Regions from separate parts of the Homo sapiens genome. Here region 2 is linked to region 1. The links are contacts of gene promoters, found by promoter capture Hi-C in blood cells and fetal thymus (Javierre and others, 2016). All regions are on one chromosome and are shown on one strand. Each heading gives the region's core, a stretch centred on a gene start or on the middle of the fragment in contact. The rest is flanking DNA. Distances are from core to core; before and after follow the strand shown. Region 1 holds the start of TREX1 (three prime repair exonuclease 1). Region 2 holds the start of QARS1 (glutaminyl-tRNA synthetase 1).

Region 1 (2,850 bases), core at 351-2,850:
GTCACTGGCTCCAACTGCCAGTGTAATGTGGAGGTGAGTGGGTAGGGGCCAACAGCTGGCAGCTCTGGTGGTAAGGGGGCCCCGTGCAAGGACTGTAGGCCCCACTGCAAACCCCCTCACGTGAGGTGGCTAGGCTGAGCGGATTGTTAGGGTGCAGGCCATGGTGGCACCAGGCCTCAGTCTGCACCCCCCCTCTCTCAGGTGGTCAGAGCGCTCACGGTGATGTTGCACAGACAGTGGCTGACAGTGCGGAGGGCAGGGGGACCCCCAAGGACCGACCAGCAGAGGCGGACAGTGCGCTGTCTGCGGGACACGGTGCTGCTGCTGCACGGCCTATCGCAGAAGGACAAGCTCTTCATGATGCACTGCGTGGAGGTCCTGCATCAGTTTGACCAGGTGATGCCGGGGGTCAGCATGCTCATCCGAGGGCTTCCTGATGTGACGGACTGTGAAGGTAAGCCTGCCAGAGGCCATCCTGCCCAGCCCCCATGGCTTCTTCCAGAGGTTCCCCAACAAGTCAGATTCCTGGGTGTCCCCTCAGCAGGCCCCCGCCCACTGCAGCCTGTTCCAGCACTGGGGCCATTTTCTTTTATCTTCCTGCCTCAGTTCTTCTCCAAGCATATTGGGATGCCTTTTGCATCTATCTGTTGAGTGTGCCTGGCAGAGCCACGGTTTTTCCAGAAATAGCCGTGTCTGAATTGCCTTTGTATCACTTTGTTTGCAGTAGCTGAGGGAGCAGGGCCTGGGTGTGGAAGGGACTGGTTAGTTCCTGCGGACGTTGGGGGAGGAGAGGTGGGACCTGCCCTAGGCCCTGGCACCTTTGGGCCCTCACCAGGAACCTCTCCTTTTTGTCTCAGAGGCAGCCCTGGATGACCTCTGTGCCGCGGAAACCGATGTGGAAGACCCCGAGGTGGAGTGTGGCTGAGGCCCTGAGTGTCCAGCCACATGGTGGCACCAGCACCACTCCTTTCCTTACCACATCAACTGATTAAAGCAGTGACCAGCAGGAACTGCCCAGAGAACTGGCTGGCCTTGTTTCCTGAGTCTGATCTGTTTGGCGGAGTGGGAGGGGTGGAGCAGGACCCGGACCCTGAGTGGCTGGGATCCTTCTTCCTGTCCCTGGCTGTTGCTGAGCCCGTCCCCATGGTAACTGATCTGCCTTGAGGAAGGAGCCCTGCCCTGCCTGTGGAATTGTCCTGAGTCATTGCTTTGGGCTGGGGCCATGGGAAGAAACCATTGTGTGGCAGGGAAGGAGGTGGCTCTTGGCCCAGGCCTAAACCAGGAAAGCCTGGGAAACTGGGACCCACAGGTGGGCATGAAAGGGCCGCAGCAGGGGCTCCCAGCAGTGTGTAAGACCGGGAGCTGGTCTGGCACCACTGCCCTGGTCCTTCCAGCTGCCTGTCACTGGTATGATGGCCCCGGTGCATTGTGCCACCAGCAGGCCACAGCTGTGGATCTTGGAAGGCCTCTGGGGTCCCCCGGGAGCAGGGGAGTGGGTGTGGGGGGGAACGGATGGTGGTGAGAGGGACAGACCAGGCAGGCTGACGAGCAGGGCGGGCCTGGCTCACGTGGGCCTGTAGGCGGGCCCACGCCAAGTTTCACTTCCCGCCACTGCTGCCAGCGAGAGCCGCGGGAGAGTGTGCAGCCGAGTCACTACTGCCTGCCTGCCTGCCTGCTACGGTGAGTGTGGCCCCCACAATGGGATGGCGCAGGGCAGGAGGGCCATGGGTTCCCCCACCCCAGACTAAGGGGGCACTAGGGGAGGGGCCGAGTCATGTGAAGAGGGAGACCCTCTCAGACAGTCGAATGTGCTGGTCCCACTAAGGAAACCACCTCACCCTCTCCAACTTCCTGCCTGAAAATGGGCCCTGGAGCTCGCAGACAGGGCAGGATTGTGCAGGGAAGGCCTGAGATGTGCTTCTGCCCACCCCCTACCCCACTCCCTCCCCTTCGGATCTTAACACTGGGCACTCACACACCCACCCCATGCTCCTCTCCAGGCTCAGCAGCAGGTACGTACCCAACCATGGGCTCGCAGGCCCTGCCCCCGGGGCCCATGCAGACCCTCATCTTTTTCGACATGGAGGCCACTGGCTTGCCCTTCTCCCAGCCCAAGGTCACGGAGCTGTGCCTGCTGGCTGTCCACAGATGTGCCCTGGAGAGCCCCCCCACCTCTCAGGGGCCACCTCCCACAGTTCCTCCACCACCGCGTGTGGTAGACAAGCTCTCCCTGTGTGTGGCTCCGGGGAAGGCCTGCAGCCCTGCAGCCAGCGAGATCACAGGTCTGAGCACAGCTGTGCTGGCAGCGCATGGGCGTCAATGTTTTGATGACAACCTGGCCAACCTGCTCCTAGCCTTCCTGCGGCGCCAGCCACAGCCCTGGTGCCTGGTGGCACACAATGGTGACCGCTACGACTTCCCCCTGCTCCAAGCAGAGCTGGCTATGCTGGGCCTCACCAGTGCTCTGGATGGTGCCTTCTGTGTGGATAGCATCACTGCGCTGAAGGCCCTGGAGCGAGCAAGCAGCCCCTCAGAACACGGCCCAAGGAAGAGCTATAGCCTAGGCAGCATCTACACTCGCCTGTATGGGCAGTCCCCTCCAGACTCGCACACGGCTGAGGGTGATGTCCTGGCCCTGCTCAGCATCTGTCAGTGGAGACCACAGGCCCTGCTGCGGTGGGTGGATGCTCACGCCAGGCCTTTCGGCACCATCAGGCCCATGTATGGGGTCACAGCCTCTGCTAGGACCAAGCCAAGACCATCTGCTGTCACAACCACTGCACACCTGGCCACAACCAGGAACACTAGTCCCAGCCTTGGAGAGAGCAGGGGTACCAAGGATCTTCCTCC
Region 2 (4,185 bases), core at 1-2,500, 640 kb after region 1:
GCCTGAGCCCAGCCAGACCACTTTAAGTCACTCCTGTTCCTTCCCCCACCTCCTTCTCACTCGTGCCCAGAAGAAAAGGCATGACCAGAGAGAACAATATAGCCCCGTTCCAGGCCCTGCTCACCCATCAGCAGCCCCATGTTGAAATGGTAACGTTCCACCAGGAGCTGGGGCCGGTGCCTGTTAATAGCAGCCTCCACCTGCAGAAAGCCAAACCATGTGGTTCAGGAAAGCCACCTTTAGAGATATTCTGGGAACCCACACCCTCACTCTGGGTCTTCCTGAGGAGGGAAACTGAGCCACTCCTTTCCATGGCCAGGACTGGGGAGGCAGACGATGCCTGGGGAAAGACTCACAGCCTCCTCAATCTGCTCTGGGGTCACAATGACACCCACGCCACATTCCCGCTCGAAGTCCACAGTGTCGATGGGGTCCAAGGGGTGACTCCGCACATACTCAAGGGCAGCTGAGAAGAAAGAGCCCGTGAGTTTGTGGCATCTCTGCTCCAAGAAGTGGACAGACAGGGTCCTAATCTCATGAAACTCCAAGGATAGTCTGGCCTCCTGAAAAGTTAAGCCCTGGCACCACCACCCTAGAGAACACAGGGAAGAAAGAAGCACGTGTCGAGAGTGGATCCCCCCTCAGACCCTGACAGTTCCCGTGTCAGTCTCACCATAGGCCACCCCTTCCATGCCTCAGTGCCTGTGCAGAACTAGGTGTCTAGAAAGAAACTGGAGGACTTGGCAAAAAGGGAAGACAGGGGTCTTGGCTGAAGGGAGGCATTGGTGCGAACTGGCAGGACAGGTAGGGGTCTCACCGCTTAGCTGGGGCTCAGTGTGGATCTTCTTACTGGCTATGTAGCTTACAAGGAAGGAGAGACGCCGGGTATCCCTGAGTCGGGAGGCCAAGCCATATAACAGGATCCCGGTAGCTTTGTCAATGGTGGAACCCAGGGTCTGCTGAGCCTGAGGTCAGAGGGGTCAAGAGAGAAGCCCCGCGCTCAGTGAGAGGAAAGGGCGGGACAAACGGGGCAGGTCGGGATCTGGACCCCGCCCCGCGCTGCGTTGCAGCATGGTCTGCAAACCAGGCCGGGGGCAGAGGGGCTCGCACCTGAGTAGCGGCCTCGCGCAGCTGCGCGCTCAGAGCCGAGTTCTTGAGCGTCTCGCGGGCCTTCTGCTCGCTCAGGCCGAGGCTAGTGAAGAGCGACAGGGAGTCTAGAGCCGCCATTGCAGAGACACCGGAAACTAAAAGAAACTTAGGCCCCAGTCTGCAGGTCGGCATTCACTCGCTGACCAATGAGAGTGAAGCCTCCGGGGAGAGCCAATGGGGTCCTTCCTTGGCGGGAGGGGGCGGGGCGCTCCAAGGTCGTCTATCCCCTTTAAACAACACAGGGCGGACAAACCGGCCTTTCCGGGGGCTTTGCTTCCGCCTCCGTGGAACTGGGAACTTGAAGGGGTGTTGGCAGGCGGCAGGGCTTTTGGAGATATTTGCCACGGACCTGGAAGGAAGGTGTTCGTCCCTGAGGCAGGAGGAAGACACAGGCGTGGTTTTGCTCTGACTTTTCTACTTCAGCCCTGGTAACTCCATCTCAATATAGTAATTGTCCTCGGGGGCAAATGCGAGTCCCTGTCACGCTTTTGACGCCACAGCTTTGGAGTTGTCATGGAAACAGTTGAACAAATGAAGCCCAGGAAATCCCTCATCCAGACTCCATCGTAGAGAATGTGTGGAATGACCGATCCAGGGGCCCCATAAGTCCGCCGGTTTTCAGGTGCCCACTTGGACACAGCTGGCCAGGAAAGGGAAGGGACGGGTCTGGGCCAGGAGGGACCTCACATAAGTTCTATGATGATTTGGTTTAAAATCTTGGCCGGGCGCAGTGGCTCAGGCCTTTAATCCCAGCACTTTGGGAGGCCGAGGCGGGCGGATCACTTGAGGCCAGGAGTTCGAGATCAGCCTCGCCAACATGGTGAAACCCTGTCTCTACTAAAAATACAAAAATTAGCCGGGCGTGATGGCGCACGCCTGTAATCCCAGCTACTCAGGAGGCTGAGGCTGGAGAATCGCTTGAACCTGGGAGGCGGAAGTTGCAGTGAGCCGAGATTGTGCCACTGCACTCCAGCCTGGTCAACAGAGTAAGACTGTCTCAAAAAAAAAAAAAGAAAAGAAAAAAAAATCTCATCCCACACTTACCCTCTTGCCAAAGCATTATCAGGAAAACCACAAGCAAATTAGACCTTGAAATCCCTCTGCAGGCCTTTGAGAGGATATTTTATTGAGCTTGTGAGAGGGTGGGACAAATGAGATGGTTATAGCTTCATGATTATAGCTGTTGTGCTTGGGGATCTTTCCACAGTCTCACTGGACTTCCAGGACCTGCTGGCTGAAACAGAACAGAGACTTTGTGTGTGTGTGAGAAAAGGGACTAAGGTAGTAAGGGACTGAGGTAGGGGGTTGCAGAGAATGAGCAGCTGGTGGTGGGATGGTGGAAATCCCCACATTTGAGATTGGAGCTCTTGCAGGAATTGGTGATGCTCATACTTCTGGACCTTCAAGGAATAGGCAGGATCCTGACTAGTCTTTATCTATATTCTGTGTCTTTTGTGCCCACATCCCATTATTAATGACCAACCTCCAAGTCTGGGCCTACATCTGGATACCACCTAATGATCACATGCCAGGTGCAGACCAGGGCCACATGCTGTATCGCTATCCAGGTCCAATGCTGTCCTGGGGCTTCCCACATCTCCATGGCCCCGTGGCCCCAGCCAGATGCCTAGCCCTGCAGTGTACTGCATGAGAAAGGCCAGGTGCAGGAATTAAGCAGGGGATGCAGACCAGTGGTGCTAAGGACAGGTACCAAGAAGCAGAGCCATAGCCACACCAGCCGTGCACCAAATTTGAAGCTGCAAGTACCCAGCCCACCATAAAGGTGCCCATGGTGAGCAAAGCCATGCAGAGTGCCTGCCACTGCCACTATTTCCTCAGTACCTGATGCTGCCAATAGATTCACTGTAGCACCATCACCAAGTCCTACAGGTCTAGTGATGGCTCCCTCAATGAGATCAAGATCTGCACTCCCTTCCCTGGTTACTTCATGGTACACTGTGGACGCCATGGCTACAAGTCATAGAATGAGGCAGTAGCCCCACCAGTGTCACCAAGAATGCCACAAGTGGTAGCATACCAGTCGATATCCAGCTAGTGCCCTAGATGTCTACGACTTGCACAAAGCAGAAATGTTAAATTGTATGGGCCCAGTCTGGAGGTTAGCTTGCCTGCATAAGCCCCTGGCACTGCTTCCAGGAAAAGTCAAGACAAAGATGACCAAGTGGAAAAACCAGGCAGCAGCCAGCAAGGCCCAGTCGTGGAATGGACAGAGGTAGGGTCCAGCAACCTCCTGGGCTCAAACGATCCTCCCATCTCAGCCTCTGAAATATTTGGGACTACAAGTGCATACCATAAGAGCCAGCTAATTTTTATATTTTTGGTAAAGACAGGGTCTCACTATGTTGCCCAGGCTGGTCCTGAACTCCTAGGCTCAAGCTATCCTCCCACCTCGCCCCAAAGTGCTGGGATTACAGGCATAAGCCACCACACTTGGCCAGTTTCAGCAACTTTTTTTTTTTTTTTTTTTTTTGAGACGGAGTCTTGCTCTGTCGCCCAGGCTAGAGTGCAGTGGCGCGATCTCGGCTCCCTGCAACCTCCGCCTCCCAGGTTCAAGCGATTCTCCTGCCTCAGCCTCCCAAGTAGCTGGGATTACAGGTGCCCGCCACTGCACCTAATTTTTGTATTTTTAGTAGAGACGGGGTTTCACCATCTTGGCCAGGCTGGTCTCGAACTCCTGACCTCATGACCCACTCGCCTCGGCCTCTCAAAGTGCGGGGATTACAAGTGTGAGCCACCATGCCTGGCCAAAGAAGGAAGGCTTCAGGAACTCTTAAGGGAAGACTCTTCAGGCTGGCAGGCCCCAGCACCCTCCCTCCAATAGAAGTCAGACAAGATTCACTCTGGTCCTCTCTGCTTGTCCTCTTTTCAGGGCAGCAAGATCTGCCCCACAGCAGTTTTCCTCCTGCTCTGTTACCTGCAGGGATGCAGTTAGTGTTCAAGTTACAGCAAAGAAAAAGCTGAGGACAGGAGAGGAGGAGGAAGATCTCCCAGTACTTCTGTCCCCCAAGTCCTCCC

What was found. Contacts are between HindIII fragments. The CHiCAGO score rates a contact against its expected background, and 5 or more counts as called.
Region 2: a contact is called between the fragment with the promoter of QARS1 here and the fragment with the promoter of TREX1 in region 1, in 1 of 17 cell types (non-activated CD4 T cells). The highest score is 5.2, in non-activated CD4 T cells.

The regions. Positions count from the first base shown.
Region 1 is chr3:48,464,630-48,467,479 of GRCh38, forward strand. It overlaps TREX1 (three prime repair exonuclease 1), which reads left to right and starts at 1,601. Exons shown (of 2, transcript NM_033629.6): 1 at 1,601-1,680; 2 at 2,001-2,850. The coding sequence starts at 2,027. It overlaps ATRIP (ATR interacting protein), which reads left to right. Exons shown (of 13, transcript NM_130384.3): 11 at 1-33; 12 at 202-454; 13 at 858-2,850. The coding sequence ends at 925. ATRIP-TREX1 (ATRIP-TREX1 readthrough) reads left to right here. Exons shown (of 15, transcript NR_153405.1): 12 at 1-33; 13 at 202-454; 14 at 858-1,680; 15 at 2,001-2,850. RefSeq lists enhancers at 827-916, 1,529-2,410, 1,997-2,196, 2,411-2,850. The HindIII fragment of the contact is 3,980 bases long and covers 1-2,850 here.
Region 2 is chr3:49,103,507-49,107,691 of GRCh38, forward strand. It overlaps QARS1 (glutaminyl-tRNA synthetase 1), which reads right to left and starts at 1,251. Exons shown (of 24, transcript NM_005051.3): 1 at 1,111-1,251; 2 at 818-965; 3 at 357-466; 4 at 125-200. The coding sequence starts at 1,227. RefSeq lists enhancers at 1-473, 1,023-1,212, 1,423-1,582, 1,776-2,425. The HindIII fragment of the contact is 7,394 bases long and covers 1-4,185 here.